Regions from separate parts of the Homo sapiens genome. Here all the other regions are linked to region 3. Evidence: promoter capture Hi-C in 16 types of primary human blood cells and fetal thymus (Javierre and others, 2016). All regions are on one chromosome and are shown on one strand. The core of a region is centred on a gene start or on the middle of the fragment in contact, and the rest is flanking DNA. Distances in the headings are between cores, read along the strand shown.

Region 1 (2,903 bases), core at 46-2,545, 150 kb after region 3:
TGCGTAAGGGGAGATATGGGGGAAGAGGCTTCCTGGAGGACCCCCCCACACCCCACCCACCACTCCCCAGGAACCTCTCCACACCCTGTCCTCTTGGGTGTTTAGGGAGGCTTCCTGAAGTCAGCATTCCTTCCCCCAGGGTAGAGGGTGGGAGCTCTGGGGAGGATCTTATGACCTACAATGGAAAGTCAGGTGAGAGTGGAGACCTGGAAGGATTCTGTTTCCTGAGGCCTGACACGCCCAACATTGCAACAAAAGACTGTGACGTGTGAGAGTTATGAGCCAGGAACTGTGCAAGAAAACCATGATGTGTCATTGTACCACAACAGGTAAACCTACAACATCACCGTTAGCTCAGCTCAGTATTTTTAAAATGAGAAAATCAAAGTGATGGGATGCCCACCCATGCTGTTCCAGCCCCTGCTGGGAGCTGGCTGGTTCAGGGAGCCCCACTGGTTCTCCTGAAAGAGGGTGAACGCACAGCGAGGCCTTCCCTCCCCGGCGGCTTCTCCTGCCGCTCCCCAACCCGGAAGCTTCATGGTCCTTCTTGAAACCAGGTGCTTGCTGGGGACGCCTGCTGGCCGACAGGCAGATTGCGTCCAGATGCTGAGTCCGTGCTTTTGAAAGCCAATTAATCTCAGCCTTGGGGCTTTGGGGATCATCCCGAGATGGGATTTGTACAGAAACAGAGCAGGCCGTTCTATGATGAGGTCAGAAGGAAAGGCGAGCCGAGCCCGGCTGACTTACAGGCCCTTGGTGTGTGGGGCTTCTTATGGGTCCTGAGTGTGATGGATAAAGCGCTGGAGATGCTGGGCTCTCACCGGGTGCTGCACCGAGTCACTTGCTGTATGGATTTTTCAGGCTGCTCTTCTGTGCAGAGCACAGAGGCCTGGGAGCACCCATCTCACATAGAGGGGGTGGTACGTGCCATCTGCCTGTCCTGGCTGCCTGAAGCTTTTGAAAACAGGGTGACCCGCTGAGTCCTGAGACCTGGTGGGAAGGAACCTCACCCAGTGGGGAGATGGGGGCATGGGGACCTGGAGTAGCACGTGCACAGGAACTGGCAGATAAAGGCTGCTCTGGGCCTGCAGGGAGCAGCTGGAGCCACGCAGGCTGGGCCGTGTCCTCGGTCTGTCTTCATACGCTGTGCCAAGGAGATCGGACTTTATTTTGAAAATGGTCAGGAGTCGCGGGCACATTTGAGGCCAGATAAGATTGCATGATCAGATTCTCAGAACGGCAACCCCCATGGGTGGCTGCGACCAATGAGTTAAGGAGGCAAGCCCAGTGGCAGGGCAGCTGGTACAGGACGGGGGCCACAGCAGTCCCTCAGAGAAGAGGCCCGTAGACCTCGCAGACCTCAGGCTCTGCAGAGAACCGTTGTCATGACTCACGGGCACTGTGTGAAGGGTTCTGAGTCATCAGAGATCACAGTGGTGTTCCATCATTTAATGTGTATTTGCTGATAGTCCAATTCTTTCCCTGTGTGTGCACAGGTGTGTGCACAGGTGTGTGCATGTCCTCTGTGTACAAAATGTTTCAGTCGCCAAGACTGTGCCAGACAGTGGGACTCACTACACCCGACACTGGGGTGATGGCGTTGTGCCAACGTGAGATGGAAGTTAGGAAAGCTTCCCTGCAGTGATGTTCAGGTTGAGGTCCCACTGGCAGGAGGAGCCTGCCCTGCGGTTAGGAGGAACCTTGCAGACAGAGCGGCACCTGCCACACATCCCAGGCTCTGAGGGCACGTGGCAGCGACAGGCAGGAGCCTGGGGTCCAGATGTCCTCAGTGGAATGGGAAGCCTGGTTAAGCCTTTTTTTTTTCTTGAGATGGAGTCTCTCTTTGTTGCCCAGGCCGGACTGCAGTGGTGCGATCTCAGCTCACTGCAAGCTTCGCCTCCGGGGTTCACGCCATTCTCCTGCCTCAGCCTCCCAAGTAGCTGGGACTACAGGCGCCCACCACCACGCCCAGCTAATTTTTTGTATTTTTAGTAGAGACGGGGTTTCACCGTGTTAGCCAGGATGGTCTCAATCTCCTGACCTTATGATCCGCCCGCCTCGGCCTCCCAAAGTCCTGGGATTACAGGCATGAGCCACTGCGCCCGGCCCTGGTAAAGCATTTTTGAAAAGATTCCTTTGGCAGCCAAAAAAGTGGGAGTGCACAGCAGAGGCCAGTTGAGGTCTCTTGTGGTAAGACACTGTGGTGGCCGAGGTGTGGGCACAAGGTGGGAGACAGCAAGAGGTCAAGGATCATTACACGGGGTGGACGGTGGGGCCGTTGTAGGAGCTGAGGGAGACGAGGAACAGGAGCGTGGGAGAGTGCTGAGATGGTCGGTAGGGACCCTGTTAGCTCCGGCAATGGGTGGGCACGCAGCAGCTTGGAGGAGCCAGGCTGAGGTGGTCCAGGTGGCGTGATGGTCCTAGGGTGCTGGGCGCGGGGGTTGCATCGCAGGAAGCATGTGGGATGGAGGAGACCGTCTTTGCTCCAGAGCCTCGTCAGAGAAGCGCCGTCTCAGGACCCCCAGGGAGCCCTCGTGCCCCCAGCGGGTGTGCCCTGCTGACCAGCCCTTTCTGGAGGGGCCCACGGGTCTTGCAGCCCCTTACCCACCTCCTCCTTGTGCTTCGTCACAGCCGGTGCTCAGCCTGGCTGTGCCCTTGTACCCGCTCCCTCTGGGAGTTGGGACTTTGTACAACCATTGCTGTGCCCCGAGATGCAGAGGTGCCCGGAGATACAGAGGTACCCTAAGACAGGCTGGGGCTTTTTCCTGCTCTGGCAGCAGCACCCCGGCCATGTCCCACCAGGCCGGAAGTTTGTGCTTGTCCCCCAACTGGGTGTGGCCCTTTTAGGCCATGCAGTTCCCCTGTGTGGACACCAGAGAAGAGTTGTGGGGGATTTCTGTGTC
Region 2 (3,012 bases), core at 22-2,521, 170 kb before region 3:
CAGCTCAAATGGCTATCAAAATGATGTTCATTATCCTAACATCCTCCAACAGCTCAGAAATGGCAAAAACACAGAATTTTTAAAACATTCTCTATATACTCAAAATGCTATCGTATTCTGAAAAATACAAGACCAAAAAAGCCACTTTGAAAACACAACAGTAGACCGGGCACAGTGACTCACACTTTGGCCTGTGATCCCAACACTTTGGGAGGCCAAGACAGGGGAATCACCTGCAGTCAGGAGTTTGAGACCAGCCTGGCCCACATGGTGAAACCCCGTCTCTACTAAAAATACAAAAATTAGCAGAGCGTGGTGGTGGCGCCTGTAATCCCAGCTACTCGGGAGACTGAGGCAGGAGAATTGTTTGAACCCGGGAGGAGGACGTTGCAGTGAGCTGAGATGGCGCCACTGCACTCCAGCCTGGGTGACAGAGCGAGACTCTGTCTCAAAAAAAAAAAAAAAAAACACATCAGTAGTTTTAAATTTCCTTATTTCGGGTTTTCTCTCTCTTTTTTTTTTTTTTTTTTTTTAGATGGAGTTTCACTCTTGTTGCCCAGGCTGGAGTTCAAGTGATTCTCCTGCCTTAGCCTCCCGAGTAGCTGGTATTAGAGGCATGCGCCACCACACCCAGCTAATTTTGTATTTTTAGTAGACACAGGGTTTCTCCATGTTGGTCAGGCTGGTCTCGAACTCCCGATCTCAGGAGATCCGCCTGCCTCAGCCACCCAAAGTGCTGGGATGACAGGCGTGACCCAACGTGCCCGGCCTATTTCAGGTTTTCTATATTCCATCTGTCCAAATGAAAGTCAAAAGATGAGTTTTCTTACTGCCAATTATTAATGACTAAACACCATTAAAAACAGCACCTTGAGAGCCATCTTTCCCAGCGTGGCTGTGCTAACAATGACGTCACATCATCAGTTCATTCTCCAGTGGAACCAGGAACACAAAAAACTGGAACAATTCAGCTACAGCTCATTGTCTTTTTTCCCACTAAAGATAAACGTTCTCAGAATATCTGTATCAATGTAACTAAGGTATTCCTAGTTCTCAGAATATCTGTATCAGCCTAATTAAGTCAATAAATACGACTAAGAGAACACATTACAAACGTAACAATGTTAGGCTACTACTGCCTTAAGGGACCTAGTTGTATCTTCTTACAACCAGGGATAGCAAGACAGAACTGCATTCCGAGAGTGTCCTTTCAAAGCTGCAAAGGGAGGAGTTATCTAGTGACTCCGCAATGAGTCTCAACCTCCAGGCTCTGTTTTACAAAAGGCACTTTCAGGTGGGGCGCCATGGCTCACGCCTGTAATCCCAGCACTTTGGGAGGCCGAGGCAAGCGGATCACCTGAGGTCAGGAGTCCGAGATCAGCCTGGCCAACATGGTGAAACCCTGTCTATTAAAAATACAAAAATTAGCTGGGAGTGGGCACGCGCCTGTAATCCCAGGTACTCAGGAGGCTAAGGCAGGAGAATCACTTGAACCTGGGAGGCGGAGGTTGCAGTGAGCCAAGATCGTGCCACTGCATTCCAGCCTGGACGACAGAGCAGAACTCCATCTTGAAAAAAAAAAAAAAAAAATTAGCCGGCGTGGTGGCACGTGCCTGTAATTCCAGCTACTCAGGAGGCTGAGGCAGGAGAATCGCTTGAACCCGGGAGGTGGACACTGCAATGAGCCAAGATCACACCACTGCACTTCAGCCTGGGAAACAGAGCAAGACCCTGTCTCAAAAAAAAAAAAAAAAAAAAAAGGCGCTTTCAAGTATAATTTGAACAGATGCTTTGGTAGCATAAAGGTTTTAAGCAGGAATCATCTGTAAAAAAAATTATTAAAACTTACCACCAGTAGGACCAAGAGTCATAACCAACTTTTATTATATTATCAGCTGCCAGGTTGCTACGCAACAGGCGGCTCTCCCCTCCTGCGTCCTGTGCGTTGTAAGATTTTTCAGTGGCATCCCTGGCCTCTGTCCACTAGATGCCAGTAGCACCCGTCCTCCCAGTCTATGCCAACCAAATGTGCCTCCAGACACTGTCATACGTCCCAGGGAGGGGAAGGAGGCAGACTCACCCCGGTGTCGTACTCCAATGCCCTTCACAGGACAAAGAACACAAGCATTCCATCTCAAATGACAAACTGCAGCAAAAACCAAATACTGTCTAGAAATCTACGGAATTCTCAGCAGAGCACCTTCTCTGTTCCTAACAAATCAGCAGAGGCGTTTGAAGCCCAATGTGCACTCTAAACTGACGTGCACGAGGAAAGCAGGGCCGCAGGGGCTGTGGCTCTGGCACGAGGTACTTTCTGGTCTCCCTGCCACCACTTCCTAGGTACAGCTGTAACACCTTGTTCCGTGCTCAAAGCCCGCTTCACATTGTAGAGATGGTAATGTGTGCCTTAAACATGCCCTCCTGTACTGCATTTTAGCAGCAAATTCAAAAATTCCTCATGAAAAAGTGTGGAGGTTGATTTACTATGACTGTCATTATTTAAGATATTATAAATTGCTCCAAAAACCAAACATAAAAGAAAACAAGAGCCCCACAAAAATGTTAAACAGATAAGAATACTACTACCCAAATGCCAACTGCTTTCACTAAAAGCTTCCTTAATTTAGAAATCCTCTTTTCTTCATTTTCCAAAAAAATCTTTCTCTTCAACAAAGCAGGAATAGTTACATTTTCACAATGGAAAAATCTGCTGTTACTGTAACAGCCTCATCTCCTGGAATATTTCCACCAATCATGCACAGAGCTGTGCTGTACTTCTGCAACCGCAGGTCTAAATGGGACCTGCCAGTAAATGGGGGAGCCACGCCTGACTACAATCACTTCACTATTAATAAATGATCAGCACTTGAAAACATGTATAGGCCAGGCAGGGTGGCTCGCACCTGTAATCCCAGCACTTTGGCAGACTGAGGTGGGGGGACTGCTTGAGGACAGGAATTTGCGACCAGCCTGGGCAACATAGCGAGACCCCACGTCCAAAAAAAAATAAAT
Region 3 (2,956 bases), core at 417-2,916:
GAAACTTGAGGGAAACTGGGGGAAACTGAGGGAACCTGAGGGAAACTGGGGGAACCTGAGGGAAACTGGGGGAAACTGAGGGAACCTGAGGGAAACTGGGGGAACCTGAGGGAAACTGGGGGAACCTGAGGGAAACTTGAGGGAAACTGGGGGAACCTGAGGGAAACTGGGGGAACCTGAGGGAAACTTGAGGGAAACTGAGGGAACCTGAGGGAAACTGGGGGAACCTGAGGGAAACTTGAGGGAACCCGAGGGAACCTGAGGGAAACTGGGGGAACCTGAGGGAAACTGAGGGAACCTGAGGGAAACTGGGGGAACCTGAGGGAAACTGGGGGAACCTGAGGGAAACTTGAGGGAAACTGGGGGAAACTGAGGGAAACTGGGGGAACCTGAGGGAAACTGAGGGAACCTGAGGGAACCTGAGGGAAACTGGGGGAACCTGAGGGAAACTTGAGGGAACCTGAGGGAAACTGGGGGAACCTGAGGGAAACTGAGGGAACCTGAGGGAAACTGGGGGAACCTGAGGGAAACTTGAGGGAAACTGGGGGAAACTGAGGGAAACTGGGGGAACCTGAGGGAAACTGAGGGAACCTGAGGGAAACTGGGGGAACCTGAGGGAAACTGGGGGAAACTGGGGGAACCTGAGGGAACCTGAGGGAAACTGGGGGAACCTGAGGGAAACTTGAGGGAAACTGGGGGAAACTGGGGGAACCTGGGGGAAACTGGGGGAACCTGAGGGAAACTGAGGGAACCTGAGGGAAACTGGGGGAACCTGAGGGAAACTTGAGGGAAACTGAGGGAACCTGAGGGAAACTGGGGGAACCTGAGGGAAACTTGAGGGAAACTGGGGGAAACTGGGGGAACCTGGGGGAAACTGGGGGAACCTGAGGGAACCTGAGGGAAACTGGGGGAACCTGAGGGAAACTTGAGGGAAACTGAGGGAACCTGAGGGAAACTGGGGGAACCTGAGGGAAACTTGAGGGAAACTGAGGGAAACTGGGGGAACCTGAGGGAAACTGGGGGAACCCGAGGGAAACTTGAGGGAAACTGGGGGAACCTGAGGGGAACTTGAGGGAAACTGGGGGAACCTGAGGGAAACTGGGGGAAACTGAGGGGAACTTGAGGGAAACTGAGGGAACCTGAGGGAAGCTGGGGGAAACTGAGGGAACCTGAGGGAAACTGAGGGAAATTTGAGGGAAACTGGGGGAAACTGAGGGAAACTTGAGGGAAACTGAGGGAACCTGAGGGAAACTGGGGGAACCTGAGGGAAGCTGAGGGAAACTTGAGGGAAACTGGGGGAACCTGAGGGAAACTTGAGGGAAACTGAGGGAACCTGAGGGAAACTGAGGGAAACTTGAGGGAAACTGAGGGAACCTGAGGGAAACTGAGGGAACCTGAGGGAAACTGAGGGAAACTTGAGGGAAACTGAGGGAACCTGAGGGAAACTGAGGGAAATTTGAGGGAACTTGGAGAACCTTAGGGAACCTGAGGGAAACTGAGGGAAATTTGAGGGAAACTGAGGGAACCTGAGGAATCCTGGCCCCGCTTCAGCCTCCCAACCCCTCACCCAGCACCAGGCCGTGTCTCCGAGACCCCTCCTCAGAGACCCCTCCTCGGGAGATCTCACCATCCTGGTGTCTCTGTTCATGTGGGCACCCAGGGAAAGGAGGAGGCAGAGCCCATTTGGGTATATAAAGGGCCATTTCCCATGGTGCTCTGGGCTCATCTGCATATCTCCCATGAGCCTCAGTTTCCAGGAAATGAAAGTGCTGAGTCACCAGCTCCCTCCAAGGAGGGCCATGTGCAGCCCCTGGGCACCTGCAGGAAGGCCCTGGAGAGGCAGCTCCTCTGGGGGCTGGAGATTGGGGTGGGTGCTCTCCGTCTGCAGGCTGGCACAGGGTGAGCATCCAGCCTGTGGTTGCTGGCCCGTCGTGGGCACGACGTCCTGGTCCTGCCGCGTTTGTAAAACGTGATCCCTGCTTTGCTGTCTCTGTCTTAAAGTTCTCTGAATTTTAAGAACCAGCCAATTGTCAATTAGTTATTGTTTAAACACATTTTCCCCTTTGTGGTTCATCTCTTCGCTCTTTAAACAAGACGCTTATAAATTAACACTTGTTTTTTCAGTAGACTCTATTTTTTACAGCAGTTTTAGGTTCATAGCAAAATTGAGCCAAAAGCATGGAGCTCTCCCACCGCTCCCCTGCTCCTGCAGGTGCACAGCCTTCCCCAGTCCTCCCGTCCCAGCCATTTGTTACACGTTGTTATTATCATCATCGCCCTCTGCAGTTTCCATTATGCTTTCCTCCGGTGCTGTGCATTCTGCAGGTTTGGACACATGTATAATCATGCAGACCCACCACTCTAATATTGTACAGACGGGTTTCTCCGCCCCGATTCATCTGTGTTCTGCATTTTCATCACTCCCTCTCCCAGCCCCTGGCAACCAGGAATCTTTTGACTGTCTCCTTAATTTTGCCTTTTCCAAAATGTCACAGAGCTGGACTCATACATTATGTAGCCTTTTCAACTTCTTTTTTAGTAATACGCACTTTGGTTCTTCCATGTCTTTTGTGGTTTGATAGTTCACTTCTTTTTTTTTTTTTTTTTTTTTTTGAGACAGAGTCTTGCTCTGTCACCCAGGCTGGAATGCACTGGTGAAATCACAGCTACTACAGCCTCAACCTCCTGGGCTCCTGTGATTTTCTCACCTCAGCCTCCCAAATAGCTGGGACTACAGGTGCTGGTGCACACCCCGATAAGTTTTGTATTTTTTGTGAGACAGGGCCTCACCATGTTGCCCACACTGGTATCAAACACTTGGGCTCAAGTGATCCGCCTGCCTCTGCCTCCCACAGTGCTGGGATTACAGACGTGAGCCACCTTGCATGGCCAGCTCACTTATTTTTTAACACTGAATGGTATTCCATTGTCTGGATGTACCATGGTTTATTTATCC
Region 4 (3,143 bases), core at 202-2,701, 210 kb before region 3:
GGTAGCCCCGGGGTTCCACGACCAGGTGGGCTCCCCGGCTGAGACAGGGCACACCACGTTCATCTGTTTTTTACCCCGGCCAACTGGTTAAGATGTCTTCTAAGTGTTCCTTGGTAAAATGCGGTTTGAAAACTGTCTCTGCAAACTTCAAAACTTCTGTCCATTAGCAGGATTAGATGAGGAAGACAGGAGAATGCCAAAGGGAAGGATAGGCTGGGTTTTAAATTTCTCCTACATTTCAAATATGAACTGCATTGGTCAAAGGGAAATATCTCAAACAATCCACACTTCACAAATCCTATGCAGACACATGAATTTCCACAACAGTAAAGCATGCAGGCCTAGACGCTCCTCCAGAACCACGCTTCCTTCTGCTCCACACAAAGAAGGTGAGGCAGAGCATGGCAGCACCGGCCCCCAACTCCTCTTCCTCTCAGCACGGGAGGCTCCAACCCCCCCTTCTACCTTCCTATCCTGTGCCTGTGTTCCAGACAGCAGCCGCTCCACTTTCTTCTCGGTATCCATCAGCCTCTATTTAACAACAAACTGAAGGCATTTACCTGCCAGCCCTTGTCCGCAGTCCTGTAGTAGGGATAATTTTTAGTGATGTGTGTATAAATCCCGTTCAGGGTGAGCTGTTTGTCGGGAGCCATCGTAATCGCCTGAACTATCAGCTGCGCGTAGGAGTAAGGCGGCTTTGAATCATCCTGTATTTAAAAAACAAACACAAAACGAATATTGAAGTTACCATATTTTGTATTAAATTTACTAGATTTAAAGATTCTCAGTGCTTTTAAGTGTTCCTCTGATACCTCATTTGTCTTTTTTTTGAGACAGAGTCTCGCTGTGTCGCCCAGGCTGGAGTACAGTGACGCGATCTTGGCTCACTGCAGTCTCCGCCCTCTGAGTTCAAGCGGTTCTCCTGCCTCAGCCTCCCGAGTAGCTGGGATCACAGGCGCCTGCCACCGCGCCCGGCTAATTTTTGTGGTTTTAGTAGAGACGGGGTTTCACCATGTTGGCCAGGCCGGTCTCAAACTCCTGACCTCAGGTGATCCGCCTGCCTCGGCCTCCCAACGTGCTGGGATTACGGGTGTGAGCCACTGCGCCCAGCCTGATACCTCATTTTTCTTACTATGAAAGTAATACAATTCGAAAACATGGAGGAAACAAATGGAAAACTATAAAGAATATTAAAAATTACATAAGGAAAAAATCCAAATGTCAAAAATGAAGACATAAAGGCTGCTTGACCTCAGTGGAGTCCAAGGCAAAGCACCTCAACCACGACCAGATCCTGTCAGCTACCCCAGGGGTACAGGCGAGGGGTGGGTAAGGCTGGCTGAGGGCTCACAGCCAGCAGCACCCCTCCCCAGGCATAAGCACCAGGGGTGGCCAGGGCTGCCCAGAGCCCCTGGGACTCACCAAATACCCATCCACAAGGAGACCCTGCCGCCCATGAGGAGGAGCCCCCTGGCCCACGAAGAGCCCCATGGAGGCTTCACCTTGGGGTTGGAGACATCCTGGCTGCTGAGTGCCCCGCTGACAGGCTGGCATCCCTGGTCCTGGCTCTTTCAAGGCCACTGGTGGCTCCCTGTCATAGTGACAACTTGAAACCCACACTTACAGGCACGAGCCCACTGGGAAAGGGAATCACTCCTGGTTGTGAACTTCTGGGCAACACGCTTGTCAACATGGATGAAGAGCAACAGATAATGTCGGATGAAAAAATACATTCAAGATGATACTATATACATGGAGTTTTACAATGAACAATTATAGATACTGTTCAAGGATAAACACAAATGGAATGGGAAACAGGCAGGCTGACAGACAGGAGGCAAGGATATCAGAGGCGCCCACATGGGCTTCCATAGCACAGGCCGCGTTCAGCGCTGACAGCTCAGAGTGGGCAGAGGGACGTTTGTCTTTTCTTTTCTGGGGACACGGTCTCACTCTGTCGCCCAGGCCAGAGTGCAGTGGTGTGATCACGGCTCACTGAAGCCTGAACTCCCAGGGCTCAGGTGATCCTCCCACCTCAGCCGCCCCAGCAGCTGGGACTCCAAGCTCATGCCACTATGCCTGGCTAATTTTTGGTATTTTTGTAGAGACAGGATCTTGCTTTTTTGTCCAATCTGATCTCAAACTCCTGAGCTCAAGTGATATGCCCACCTTGGCCTCCCGAAGTCAAATTTGTCTCTCTTTTTTTTTTGAGACAGAGTCTCGCTCTGTCACTCAGGCTGGAGTGCAGTGGCGCGATTTCGGCTCACTGCAAGCTCCACCTCCCGGGTTCACGCCATTCTCCTGCCTCAGCCTCCCGAGTAGCTGGGACTACAGGCGCCTGCCAACACGCCCAGCTAATTTTTTGTATTTTTAGTACAGACGGGATTTCACCGTGTTAGCCAGGATGGTCTCGATCTCCTGACCTCGTGATCCGCCCACCTTGGCCTCCCAAAGTGCTGGGGATTACAGGCGTGAGCCACTGCGCCCAGCCTATCGCTTTTTTTTTTAAACAGAAAAATGTAATCACAAGAAGACCCTCCACATACCTAATTCTTTCTTTTTAGACAGGGTCTTGCTATGTTGCCCAGGCTAGAGTACAGTGGCTATTCAAGGATTGATCGTAGCTCACCACAGCTTTGAACTCAAGTGATTCTGCCTCAGCCTCCCGAGCAGCTGTGACTACAGGTGCATGCCACACTGCCCGCTACGTCTCTTCCTTTAAACAGCTAACAAAGCCTTCGTCACTGTGCCTGTGCTGTTGACTTCCCTGTGATTTTTTTCTATGTTTCTAAAAACTTTTTAAATTGAAAAACATATAAAACAGACAGAAAAGCTCATGATACATTTATGTCAGCTGAACAAATTTTTGCAAAGTGAACATCAGTATACTAGGTCAAGAGACAGGGCACCACCAGCATCCCCAACATGCTCGTATGGGCCCTCTCAGCCCACTACCTCTACTTCTCCAAGAGGCCACCATTACTACTGACTTCTTAGAGTGACCACAGTTTTGCTGGGATTTACTACGTTTTACCACTTGGCTGCATCCTTAAACAATACAACTTAGATCTGTCCAATTGTAAGCCTGACAGAAACAGCACCACACGCGACGCGCCCTCCTTGCCTAGCACCCTGTGTTAGAC

The links. The method cuts DNA at HindIII sites, captures the fragments that hold promoters and counts their contacts. A CHiCAGO score of 5 or more calls a contact.
Region 1: a fragment that was not itself captured here is called in contact with the fragment with the promoter of TEX19 in region 3 in 1 of 17 cell types (activated CD4 T cells); the score reaches 7.9 in activated CD4 T cells.
Region 2: a fragment that was not itself captured here is called in contact with the fragment with the promoter of TEX19 in region 3 in 6 of 17 cell types (naive CD8 T cells, activated CD4 T cells, total B cells and 3 more); the score reaches 7.8 in naive CD8 T cells.
Region 4: a contact is called between a fragment that was not itself captured here and the fragment with the promoter of TEX19 in region 3, in 6 of 17 cell types (activated CD4 T cells, naive CD8 T cells, naive B cells and 3 more). The highest score is 8.5, in activated CD4 T cells.

What each region holds. Positions count from the first base shown.
Region 1 is chr17:82,203,707-82,206,609 of GRCh38, reverse strand. All of the region lies in intron 1 of CCDC57 (coiled-coil domain containing 57), which reads left to right. Among named protein-coding and RNA genes, the nearest start is that of CCDC57, 7.7 kb to the left of the region's middle. RefSeq lists enhancers at 94-203, 274-333, 1-619, 443-737, 664-843 and 1 more. The HindIII fragment of the contact is 677 bases long and covers 957-1,633 here.
Region 2 is chr17:82,527,967-82,530,978 of GRCh38, reverse strand. The region is part of intron 1 of FOXK2 (forkhead box K2); the gene reads right to left. Among named protein-coding and RNA genes, the nearest start is that of FOXK2, 9.7 kb to the right of the region's middle. The HindIII fragment of the contact is 2,689 bases long and covers 1-2,615 here.
Region 3 is chr17:82,357,957-82,360,912 of GRCh38, reverse strand. TEX19 (testis expressed 19) reads right to left here and starts at 1,666. Exons shown (of 2, transcript NM_207459.4): 1 at 1,628-1,666. RefSeq lists a silencer at 186-480. The HindIII fragment of the contact is 12,499 bases long and covers 1-2,956 here.
Region 4 is chr17:82,569,288-82,572,430 of GRCh38, reverse strand. It overlaps FOXK2 (forkhead box K2), which reads right to left. Exons shown (of 9, transcript NM_004514.4): 4 at 561-707. Among named protein-coding and RNA genes, the nearest start is that of FOXK2-AS1, 18 kb to the left of the region's middle. RefSeq lists an enhancer at 953-1,452. The HindIII fragment of the contact is 5,606 bases long and covers 1-3,143 here.